Linked DNA regions of Homo sapiens: region 2 is linked to region 1. The links are contacts of gene promoters, found by promoter capture Hi-C in human tissues and cell types (Jung and others, 2019). All regions are on one chromosome and are shown on one strand. The core of a region is centred on a gene start or on the middle of the fragment in contact, and the rest is flanking DNA. Distances in the headings are between cores, read along the strand shown.

Evidence for each region. The method cuts DNA at HindIII sites, captures the fragments that hold promoters and counts their contacts. A contact is called where the count stands out against the background at its distance.
Region 2: the fragment with the promoter of FOXA1 here is called in contact with the fragment with the promoter of NKX2-8 in region 1 in 1 of the 25 tissues and cell types used here (mesendoderm cells).

What each region holds. Positions count from the first base shown.
Region 1 is chr14:36,580,343-36,586,039 of GRCh38, forward strand. It overlaps NKX2-8 (NK2 homeobox 8), which reads right to left and starts at 2,272. Exons shown (of 2, transcript NM_014360.4): 1 at 1,891-2,272; 2 at 1-1,122. The coding sequence starts at 2,047. The coding sequence ends at 560. RefSeq lists enhancers at 42-852, 853-1,663. The HindIII fragment of the contact is 13,278 bases long and covers 1-5,287 here.
Region 2 is chr14:37,591,851-37,597,547 of GRCh38, forward strand. FOXA1 (forkhead box A1) reads right to left here and starts at 3,399. Exons shown (of 2, transcript NM_004496.5): 1 at 3,051-3,399; 2 at 1-861. The coding sequence starts at 3,122. It overlaps TTC6 (tetratricopeptide repeat domain 6), which reads left to right and starts at 3,779. Exons shown (of 33, transcript NM_001310135.5): 1 at 3,779-4,158. RefSeq lists enhancers at 3,335-4,194, 3,708-4,907. The HindIII fragment of the contact is 7,361 bases long and covers 2,054-5,697 here.

The DNA.
Region 1 (5,697 bases), core at 1,022-3,521:
TCCTCTCCTTTTCTTCCCGCGCCCAACCCTGACATCACCACCCCTCCATCCCCCAGGTATCTTCCTAAAGCCGTGTCGGGACTGCAACCCGCCCTTCGATCCAGCTGGGGCCGGGCCCCACTTAGCCAGTCAAGGGGCGAGCCAGCGATGCGAACACCGGTCTGGGGGGCACGACTCCCGCCTACGTTCCCCGCAGGCGCGCAGGGGACCCAACCCCACACATTTTATTCTCGAACTACGAGGAAAAATACTCTATTTTTTAAAAAAATAACTTGCTTCCTATACAAATCGCTATTTAAAAATATACAAATAAGGCCCAAGCATAAAATCTAACTCTGGGGCTGGCGGTGGAGGGAAGGTGAGGGAGGGGGCTCTGGCACACGTCCCTCGTGTGTGCTTGCGCGACGGCTGATGAGGGCGCGCCAGGGACCCTGGCGCCCAAGGAGATGGGGCTGCAGGGAGGCGGACGGAGAGCGTTCCAGGCGTTCGGCTCCGGCCCTGCTCCAATCGCAGAGCGCGCTCCAAAGTCGAGGGTAGCCCCAGGTGCCGCCCTGCGGCCTCACCAGTTCCAGGAGACCAGGGCGGGGGATGCTAAGTGCTGGTAGGCGGGGAAGAGGCCAAGCGCCGAGCCGGGACCGAAGGCAGGGTAGCCCGGCAGAGGGCAGGCGGCGGCTGGAGGGGCGCCGCACTTCTCCTGGGCCGCGGCGGTTCCCACCTCGCCACCGCCGCCGCCGCCGCACGGCTGCCCGTCGCGAACAAGCACCGGCACCACCACGCGACGCAGCAGGCCGGGCGCGGCGTGCAGCTCGGCGGATGCTGCCAGGTCAGGCGACTCCGCCGCCCCTGGAGCGCGAGCGCGCTTCAGCTTGTAGCGATGATTCTGGAACCAGATCTTGACCTGCGTGGGCGTGAGGCGAAGCAGGCTCGCCAGCTGCTCGCGCTCGGGCGCAGACAGGTACCGCTGCTGCCGGAAGCGCCGCTCCAACTCCAGCGTCTGCGCCTTGGAGAATAGCACCCGCCGCTTCTTCCTTTTCTCGGCGTCCGAGCCCGGAGACGCGGGCCTAGCGGACGGCCGCTGCGACGAGTCTGGCGGGCTGGTCTCCAGGCTGCTCTCGTCCGAGGCTAGGGACAGCAAAGGAGACACGGGTGGGTGAGACGCCGGACCCTACGAGGGCCTGCTGCCCTTCTGGCGCGGGCGTGGAGGCACTGGCCAGAGGGCACGCCCACTAGCCCGAGACTTTCGGGATGAGGCCATTTCCTGAGTCCACATCTGGACATCCACCTCTCCGAATGCGGTGACCTCATTCATACCACAGCGGTCATCAGCGGGCCTGAGATCGTGCCCCGAAAAAACCCACCCCGGGGCCCTCTTAACATGTCCGCACCGGTAGTTGCGCTGGCCGACCAGTTTATCACAAGCTGGGTCACCAGCGCCGGCCTCCTCCAGGTCGACTGCACTGCAGTGTGCCGAGGTTTGCGGAGCCCTGAGTGGGAACGGGGTGGGGGTAAACTCGCCAACACTGGCCATCCCAGACGGAGGCCTGGAGATCGTGGCCGTGTTTTCAGGCATGGAGAGGGGGCGGGGGGTGGGGTGGGGGCGGCAGGTGGCGGCGCGTTTTAAATTTCAATTATTCCGACCTCTAGAAATCGTCAGACACAGAAACCCCAAATCTCGGAGCACCAGTGCCAGGCAGGGATCTGCTCTTAGGATGTGCCGACCGGGATGAATGCGTTAGGGGTTCGAGGACAGGGCTCCCGTTTCCAAGACTGAGGAAATCTAGACTCTGGGCTGGGATTTCGGCTTTCCGGCCCCTCGTGGGCTGGGCCCTTGATTCTGCTGCCCCACGCCTCCTACCTCCCACCCCGCACCGCAATCCACCACGCACTTACAAGGGTAGTGGCCGCGCTCCGAATCCAGCCAGGCGGCGCAGGGGTCGGGCTGGGGGGCGCGTGGTTCTGGCTCCCGCCTCGGCAGGTGTTGCGCGTCCTGCTCGGGTAAATCTAGAAGGCTGCGCACGGTGAAGCTCAGGCGTCCAGAGGTGGCCATGGCCGAGGAGGGGAAGGAGGCGGGGGCAGGGCAGGCTGGGAACGGAGGGGCGGCCGGGACGCCGCTCCTACGGATGGGCGTGGGAGGCGCTCGCCATGCGCTGGCAGCCGGGATATTAGCGCATTTACAGCGGAATCTCTGTTTATATAAACAGCTCTTCCCACCCAGGCCGCTTTGAAAGCCGAGGTCCGGGTCTCCAGGGTGTTAAGTACCTGAATGAGCACTGGACCAGAGCCGGGGCGAGCCCGGAAGGTGCCACCTCCGCCCCCGCCCCGCCCCGCACCCCGCCCCGCACCCCGCCCCTTGGCGCCCAGTTACCTCCCAGAGGCTGCAGGAAGCAGCATTTGGCATTAGCGATTCTGTCTGATTAGCCCAAAGTGGGGACAGATAATGGGGATTGTTACCAGTGAATAACATCTTGGGTGGCGAGCGGTGGCCACCACCCGCCTGACCCAGCCCCAGCTTCCTCCTCCTCCTCCTGGGCTGACTTGAGGCCAGGCCCCGCGGGAGCGCCGGGAAGGGTGGGGGTGGCAGGGGTGGGTTTATTAGCACCCAGGAATTTATTCCCTGTTTGCTTTATTCTTCGAGCTTGTTTGCTGGAGTGGTAGTTTCCCGCAATTATCCAGAAAGTGATTTACAAAGCGGCGTTAAACTCTGGCGCGCTCCCTTTCTCTTTTTGGTTGGGCCCCTCTAAGATTCAGGATGACAAGTTTCAGGAGGGCGTAAAGATTAGCCTGGCCCTGCCAGCATTGGCCCAGGGGTTTCAACGGCCGCTGGGAGCCTCGGATCACACCATACATCCCCCTAACAGCCTCAGAGGTGCTGAGGAAGGGCTGGGACAACATTCGGAGCCCCAGCTCCACGTCTCCACAGGCCGGCAAAACAGAAGAGGCTTGTAGCCAAGCTACTTAGGTCTACAGTGCCTGTCTCTTTGGCCCAGCTTCGCCCGGCCGCTGCCGATCTCGGAGCTCGGAGGCCGAGCTCCACAAATTTGGGTCCAGGCCCGCTTTAGAGCCCCTGGGCGGGGGCGCTTCTCAGGGCATCCTGTGAGGGCTTTGAGGCCTCCTTGGAGTCGCCAGATGAACTGGTGCCGCCTGTGCGCCTTGGCCCCATAGCCTCAACGGCACTCTCACTGCCTGGGCTTTGGTCTTTGCCCAGGAGCCTGCCCATGGCCTACGCTCCCCGCTCGCAGCATGGCAGACCCTGACGAGGCTGCCCGCCTTGGTCCGGGAATGGACCGATCGGGAGAATTAGGACAGGGCCTACCCGGCAGAAAATACCACCGGCCATGGGTTTCTCTGGGATCTTCTAGTTTCCACAGTTCCACCCTAGAAAATGATCAATGTAGGAGGCGCAGGGAACAGGCCGCCGTGGATACATTTTGTTGGGCCATGGCCTAGCTCTGGCCGCGCTTCAATCTACAGAGGAACGCCCTCTCAGAGGCCTCTCCTACTGAAGCTAGTAGTTTGGATATTTAGTTGCTAAATTGTAGCGAAGGGCTCTGTACTTGGGTGGCTGCACCAGAAGTCCTGGCTCCTCCCGGGCTGAACTCGAACCTGGCTCGGATGCGGCGGCGGCGGCCCTGTCAAGCCCCGCGCACCCTCCCCAGCAGCCTCCCTATCAAGCGTGCCCGAGGTGCCCGGAGCTGCACCGCGCGCTGGGTGGTCGGGCGGAGGCAACCCCAATACAGGCCAACTGCTAGGCCGCGGACAAAGGGGAAATGGAGCTCGACGCCCCGGACCTGTTGGAAGCATTTGTTCCAGTCAAGATTTTGCATTTGTTCAGTCCGGAATAATGCATGATTGACGTCTGCTCACAATGCGCTTTAACGCGCCGGGATAAATCGGAGCTTGTCCGGTGTTGTCATGGTTTTCAATGGGGTTCAATGGGATTGGGAGCACGATCGACTCTGCTGGCCGTCTTTCCGCGGCCCTGGCAATAGATTTATTAGTTATGTCTTTTTAAATAAGATTAAACTGAAATGACTTGGCTGTCCTCTCTGCAGACGGGGCCGGGGCGGGAGCCTGGAGTGGGCAGGGGACAGCGGAGTCTGGAAACCCGCCGCGCACCGCTCCTCAGCTCCCGAGCCCCCAGCGTCTAGAGAGTGGGCAGGTCGCAGACTGGCTCCAGGCCTCGTGGACTTATCTCTGGCCAGAGCCCGAGGCCTGGCAATCTCTGCCAGCCCACCTCCCTAGTGAGAAGCTGAGGCACTGACAAAGACCGTCCTGGGGAAGCAAGTGTTAAGACTGATTCCCAAATTCGGTCTTGAACTATGAGATTGTGTAAGGTAGAAGGAGCTCTGGCCTGGAAATCGGTTCGCATCCTCGCTCTGCCCCTACCTATCTCTAACCACCTCATTTCTCTAAGCTTCCTTCCTTCCTTTTTTTTTTTAAAATTAATCTGATACAGAAGATAGTAGGAGAATAGATTTGGTAATTTCTAAGGACCCTACCAGTTTTATGATTCTGTATCTCAGGAATTTTTCTAAACCTATCTTCATTGTAGCATTTACCAGCCGGATATTTAGACTCCCTCCTCCCTCAGGTTCTCGAATTCTTAGCCCCAGGACTGACTCCGTCTCCAGGATGTTCTAGGAGAGGAGGTGTCATCTTTTGAGTTTCCCAAGGATCCTCCACAGGAGTAGGGTGGGGTGGATAACAATTTAGGGAAGAGAACCAAGTCAGGAGAAGCAAAAGAAGAGTCTTTCCTTGAGTGACTGACCTCTCTTAGCCTTTTAATCTATTTAACATCCTAAGCCCACACTGACGTGTAGAAATAAGTAAATGGCGCTCTTCAGCTCTTAAGAGCTCTTCAGCATCAAATATTTGCTTTTACTCTTAGTGTTTGGCTTCCAAAGCAGAGATACAGGCCCCATCTAGCACTTGTGCTCTGGGAAGGACTTTGCTCTGGGATTCGCTCCAAATATTACTTCTAGCTTCATGTTCACGGGCTTCGGAAACAGTGTTCCTGGGCCTTGGTCTGCATTTTAGATGTCCCATGGAAACCCTGTAGCTCCTGGTTCTAGAAAGGGCTGCAGCTTACCTGCTTCATCTTGGATTCCCTCCTCCTCTGCCATAAGTGCCTCTGCCATAGGCCAACCTTCCTCTCAGCTCTGCTCCGCGGATTTAGCTGAATTATCTCTGAGAGCTAGAACCGGGGGACTCCAAGAAATTGTTCAATATAAACTGTGCCTTCTGAAGAAATGCAGGAAAGCCAGAATTAGAGAAAGGTACTTTCTATATTGCCTTTTCACATCAGATAAATTCACAGACATGGGAGGGGAAAATTATTTTGATATTGGGTCAATAGGAAAAGACAGTCAAGCTAATCTTAAGTTTTTTACACATTGGAGATATATACGAATTGCCTCCAATTCCCAAGAGATTCTTAGAATCACAAGTAAGCATTTAACTGGACATTATTTCCAGATTTTCATATATTATTTGGTGTTCTGGACAATTGAACTTCTTTGCAACTTAACATACCATGTGAATATTATTATTTAATTAGCTAAGTAGTTGTTTTCTTGTAATTGGATGTAGTATATCTCAATTCCAGTAAGAGTTTTTAATGTTTAGGCACCTGTAATATATGAGTATATTTAAGCTGTCCACAATAATCATCCTTTCAGAAGTATTATCCAGAGATGA
Region 2 (5,697 bases), core at 2,149-4,648, 1.0 Mb after region 1:
CCGATGGAGGGGCGAGTCGGCGCTGGGGTTAGAGGCGCCAGAGGGGTCCTTGCGGCTCTCAGGGCCGCCCTTGGCGCCGCTGCCCCCGCTTCCGCTCCCGCCCCCGCCGCCGGCCCCCGGCTGCTTCTCGCACTTGAAGCGCTTCTGGCGGCGCAAGTAGCAGCCGTTCTCGAACATGTTGCCGGAGTCCGGGTGCAGCGTCCAGTAGGAGCCCTTGCCCGGCTTGTCCGGGGAGCGTGCCACCTTGACGAAGCAGTCATTGAAGGACAGCGAGTGGCGGATGGAGTTCTGCCAGCGCTGCTGGTTCTGCCGGTAATAGGGGAAGAGGTCCATGATCCACTGGTAGATCTCGCTCAGCGTGAGCATCTTGCTGGGCGCCTGCTGGATGGCCATGGTGATGAGCGAGATGTACGAGTAGGGCGGCTTGGCGTGCGGGTAGCTGCGCTTGAACGTCTTGGCGTCGCCGCCGCCGCCCGCGCGGCTGCGGCCCAGGTTGGACGGCGCGTACGCCATGGGGCTCATGCACGGGTTCATGGCGGCCGCGTAGGGGCCCAGGCCATTCATGGAGGCCGCCTGCTGCGCACCCATGGCGCCCATGCCGCTCGGGCTCAGCGCCGTACCCATGGCCGTCACGCCGGCCGCAGTCATGCTGTTCATGGCGCCCGCCGAGCCCCCCGGCATGCCGGCTACTGCGCCGGGACTCAGGCCGGCCCCTAGGCCCGGGTTGGCATAGGACATGTTGAAGGACGCCGGGGTCATGTTGCCGCTCGTAGTCATGGTGTTCATGGTCATGTAGGTGTTCATGGAGTTCATGGAGCCCAGGCCTGAGTTCATGTTGCTGACCGGGACGGAGGAGTAGGCCTGGAGTGGAGACAGCGAGTGAAGAAGCCCCGGAGGGCGGGGTTAGTGGTGGGCACTGGAGGGCGGCCGTCCGGGACCTAACCCGGGGGCAAGTGCAGAGCACTTTGCAGAACACGGGACGCCCCCACCCGGGGCAAATGGCTAAGCGCCCTCCCCAGACCGAGCAAAGATGTCTTGCACGGCAGGGGGAAAATCCTAGCGCGGCAGGCATGAAAGATAAACGCTCACAGAAAATATGACCCCAGGAAGATGTGTAATCGCCTTACACGCCAGGCTCAGGGGCTGGCTTCCAGGGCCCCCTCATCGCCTCCTCCATCCACGCCAGGCGGTATCCCAAGTCTCCACCCCAACCAGCCTCGGCAAAGCGCCCTTTGGGGGGAAATCGTTGATAGAGCAAATCACCTATGGACATGGGACCCCCTGAATCATCTGTTTCCCAACAAGTGGCTTTATTGTCCTAGGGGTTTTTGCCTATGGTGACTTTTTGTTGTTTATTGTATTTAGAAGTAGTGTTTTCTACCTGCTTGTAGCAACTGTAATGTTAAAAGGGAAGCAAACTCAGAGTTAAATAAGTTTTGGAAAAATAAAACTAAAAGTAGATCCATAACAGAAAGGGCTGGGAGGGGGTGCTATAATAATCTCAAAGTGCTATATGCATTTTATTTTAACATGACTTTACATGTACACCTTTGCAAGCTATTTAGAAACTCGCATTAATTTTGTCACCACTTTACAGTCCCCTGTTTGAAAAATTTGGTGACACAGTTTGTCAAAATAAATCTTTTTTTTTTTTCACATGCTGATGTTGCTGCCGATGATTTCAACGCCTGGCTTTGAGATTCCGTGAGTAGTCTTGAATAATTTAAAATTCGAAAATCAAATTCTACTTATTTTCTCTTAATGCTATTGTATTTCCTAATTCTCAGCTTTAACATGTAAGAAAGTACTTTCGCTAGGGGTCTTAATTGAATGGTGGGGTCGAGATGACTGCGTCAGAATTAAATCTCTGGAAGACCTCTGAGCTCCTTTTAAAATCATCAACAAGCGAAAATCCTTATCAATAGCGATGTGGGAATGCATTAGGTACAGTATTTTAAACATACAAAACCTAGGCATATTAAAAAGCACTCCTCTGGTAATTTAATAAGGAATAATGATGTCCTTAAGTTTATTTTAATCAGCAAGTATGACTCAATTTGAAAATATGAGAACAAATAGATTTAAATAGGAACACCCAGTAAACTATGGTATGCAAATAAACTCAGAGGTAAACTTGTGAATACATAAATCTAAATAAGTCAGTTACCATCAAAATATTACGTGATCCTATATTTTTCTGTCCACGTCTTAAAAGTATTTTTTACCTTGGGGCTTTATTTTCTTTCCCTCTTCCCAAGATTATCCAAGGCAGTTCCAATACGCGTTTTCAATAATGGTAATTAAACTTTTGGAGGGTAATCGCCAGCTGTTTCCAGAAAAATACTTTTAATAGGTGGTAGTCCTCCCTGTAACTGGTTTTCCCTGTAATCCTTTTGTGCACATTGTAAAAATAACCCCCATGAACGTGCCACCAAGGGGACAATGAAGAGAAACAGGTTCTCGGCCCAGAGTTGTGAAGAAGATTTTGGTCGCACTAGCGCCACCCAGCGGTTTTAGAGAAGGAGCACACTTCTCCCCAAATAGGGCTTTTGAAGAACAAGTTTTACAAAATTTAGAAATCGTTTCATTATTGAGACACCCAACTTGGCGGCAGAGCGCTTTAATCAGAAGACGTCTGCGAATTAAACGGTGGGACGAAGAGGTCGCCTTGTGGGTATGCTCCGGCTTTCTCAGAGTTGCTTCCAACTCGCACCGGCGCTCGCCCGCCCGCTGCACCCCGGGCCCGGCTCCTGCTCCCGCTCGCTGCTGGGAAGAGGCAAGCGCTTCCTAGAGCCGCTGTTTTCAAAGCCCGGAGTTTCCTAAAACTCCCTCTCCGGCTGCGAGAGTCGGGACAGAGCAGGGCAGCAGGTCCCGCTTCCAGGCCCGGCCAAGGCCCGGCCGGGGCCACACCGGCGGGCGGGCAGCGGTGGCACCGAGAAGGCGCCCCCGGCCCGCCTGCCTGCCTTGCCTGGCGCCCACCGCTCCCCGGCCTCCCCCGGCACGGGCTCCAGCGGCGCCCCACCGGCCGCCCGCCTCGCCTTGCCTCTCACCTCCTGCGTGTCTGCGTAGTAGCTGTTCCAGTCGCTGGTTTCATGCCCTTCCATCTTCACAGTTCCTAACATCCTGGAGCCACCCTGCCCAATACAACCATCCAGCCCTGTGCGAAGCGACGGGCGGCCGCGCGGCGCGGGGCGGGGGAGGGGAGCTGAGCAGCTGCAGTCACCCGAGCGCCCGCGCGGGCCCAACGCCACCCGGGCGAAGAGGAAGCCCAGAGCTGCGGGGCGCGGCGTGCGCGGCGGCGGCGGCGGCGCGGCGGGCGGGGGCAGCGCCGGGGGCAGGCGGCTGCCGCGGAGCGCGGCGCCGGGGAGCGCCTCCGCGGGAAGTGAGCGGGCTGCCTCTGCGAGGCAAGTGCAGTTGAGCTGATGTGGATCTTACGTCGCTTGAGTGCCCACCTCCTCGTCCTCTCCCCATTTGTCCGCCGCACAAAGACGCTCGCACCTACAAAGCCCGAGGTGCACCTGCAAGGCGGCCGCCCGCCAGTCCGGCCGCCGCGCCTCCCGCCCCGCCGCTTCACCGCTGCGCGCGACCCCTCCCCCGCGACCCCTCCCCCAAGCGGGGCCCTCACTTTGTTTGCAAAGCAGTGTAATTGGTTTAGGCCCGGAGGCTAGGGAAAGAGGGAAATGGGGAGGGAGGGGGTGTAACCCCCTTTGGAAAAAGAAAAAATAGGCGGGGCCAGGCGGGCGGGCGGGCTAGGGCTCTGGATCGGAACCTCGCAGCCGGAGAAGGCCGGGGGCGGTGGCGTCGGAGACTGGGCTTAGAGACCTTGTGGGATAACTGACCCCGGGGTCCCTCCCCAGAGGTACACGCCACCTTCCGAGCGCGGGCTGCGGCCCAGTCTCGCGCCCCTCCTGCTCTTTGCTTCCTCCCTCCTGATTCCTGACCCAAAGTTCAACCCCGGGAGACTGGAGAATACAGACTTTTTTTTTTCTTTCCTCCTGAGAGCTTCAGACTAGAAAAGGGAAAAAGCCCCACTTTTGCTTCGTCACTAGAAACCGGGTCATCTGAGTCAGCCGAGCCAAGTGACGTTAGGCCGACCCGGGCCCCGGGCTAGCAGAGCGGAGGCGCTGCCACGAAACTCGTACCTGCGGCTAAGAGCAGGTGAGTCACAGCACCGGTTTATATCTTTATGACATAACTTTTTTTTTTTGTTCCGCCTCGGTCCGCTCCTCTCCCCTTGTCATCTGTAGCGACCACAAAGAGGAAGAAACTGAGAGCAGATGTCTGTGTGATAGGGCAGGCGGACCCAAGTCGGGCCGTCCTCCCCCTGCCGGGCTCCTCCTCCCGCCCCCCTTCAGCCGCTTCAGGGAGTGAGCTGGAGACGACCGTCTGGTTTCTGATAGGAAAAGGTCAGGGGGAGGGGACATCTCCCATAACACGCGCGTTAGCTGGGAGAGCAAGGGCCTGGGCGCGGGAACGCATCTGCACTGCGAAAGAGATGCCAGGCAGAAGCCCGAGACTGCCCGCAGCGGCGCTTGGTCCTGTCTGTGACCCGGAGGGTCCGGGCTGAGATCTCAGGGGCTCGCTTGGTTCCTAATCGGTCCTGGACGTCGGTGGGAGAGTCTTCCCAACGCAAAGTCTCTTTACTCTCATGAGGCCCTGGGTGGTGGTTGCCCACTTGTCCTGGGAGAGAGAACAACTGAAGTGACCGGGTGATAGGCAATTAGTTGGTGATAGATTGGGAGATGGTGCGTGTGTTTTGAGTGTGTGACCGTTTGTATATTTCTGAGCATGTGTGACTGTGTGTGTTTCTGAGTGTCTGTGACCATGTGTTTGTTGTACTGCCTGTAGAACCACTAGGTTTCCTTAAGTAACAATAAAATAAAATCTAAAGTAATTAAGAATCCGCAAAATCTTCTTGTTTTGCAAAGTTTTTAAAATGTTATTAATCTCATTTTAAGAAATGTGTTTTAACTTGTCTTCCAAACAGATACCTTTTTCCCTGTGCTTTGTTCTTTTAAATCTCTTTTACTTGAAATCTGGCAAGAGAATCACTTTAAATCCCTGAACCAAACAAATCTCTTAAGTCAGCAGGGGAGCAGAGAGGGTGAAGATGTGCAGTTAAGGAAATAAAAAAAGATAAAAGCATTGGATTACATTTTTTTTTTTTTTTTTTACAAAAAGGGTGGGGGGGTAGAAACGTCACATCATAAGGAAAGGAATGAGTGAAATTAAATCCACCTGGAACTCAGTAGGGCAGGAACCCTCCCTAATGCAGCCTGCTCCTGTGACTGCAAGTTGTCCCATCAGTTTGTGTAAATGTATCTGCGAATTGTGTGTCAGAAACTAATTCTTTTGTGCAAAGTTCCCATTAGTAGCTGACTTTAGTTCCATTTGTAAAGTATACGGATGCTTAGCTTCCTGGGCCTGATCCGGGGGACTTTCAGTGCTAATGAGCTTCCTTGTTCCTTCTGGAGGTGATTCTCCAATACCCTCTTGGCTCTTCAATAACACCGAGCAAGACTAGGTTATTTTCTACCGAGAGTAACAATTTATGGATAGTAATAGCTTTTATAGTGCACAAAAAAGTTGGCGCTTTAAGTAGGGGAAAAACACTGTCACCTTAAAGGGGGGGTCAATTACAATATCAAATGTTCTTTTAGCCCACTTCCCAAACCTACTAAGTCTCATATTTTCAAA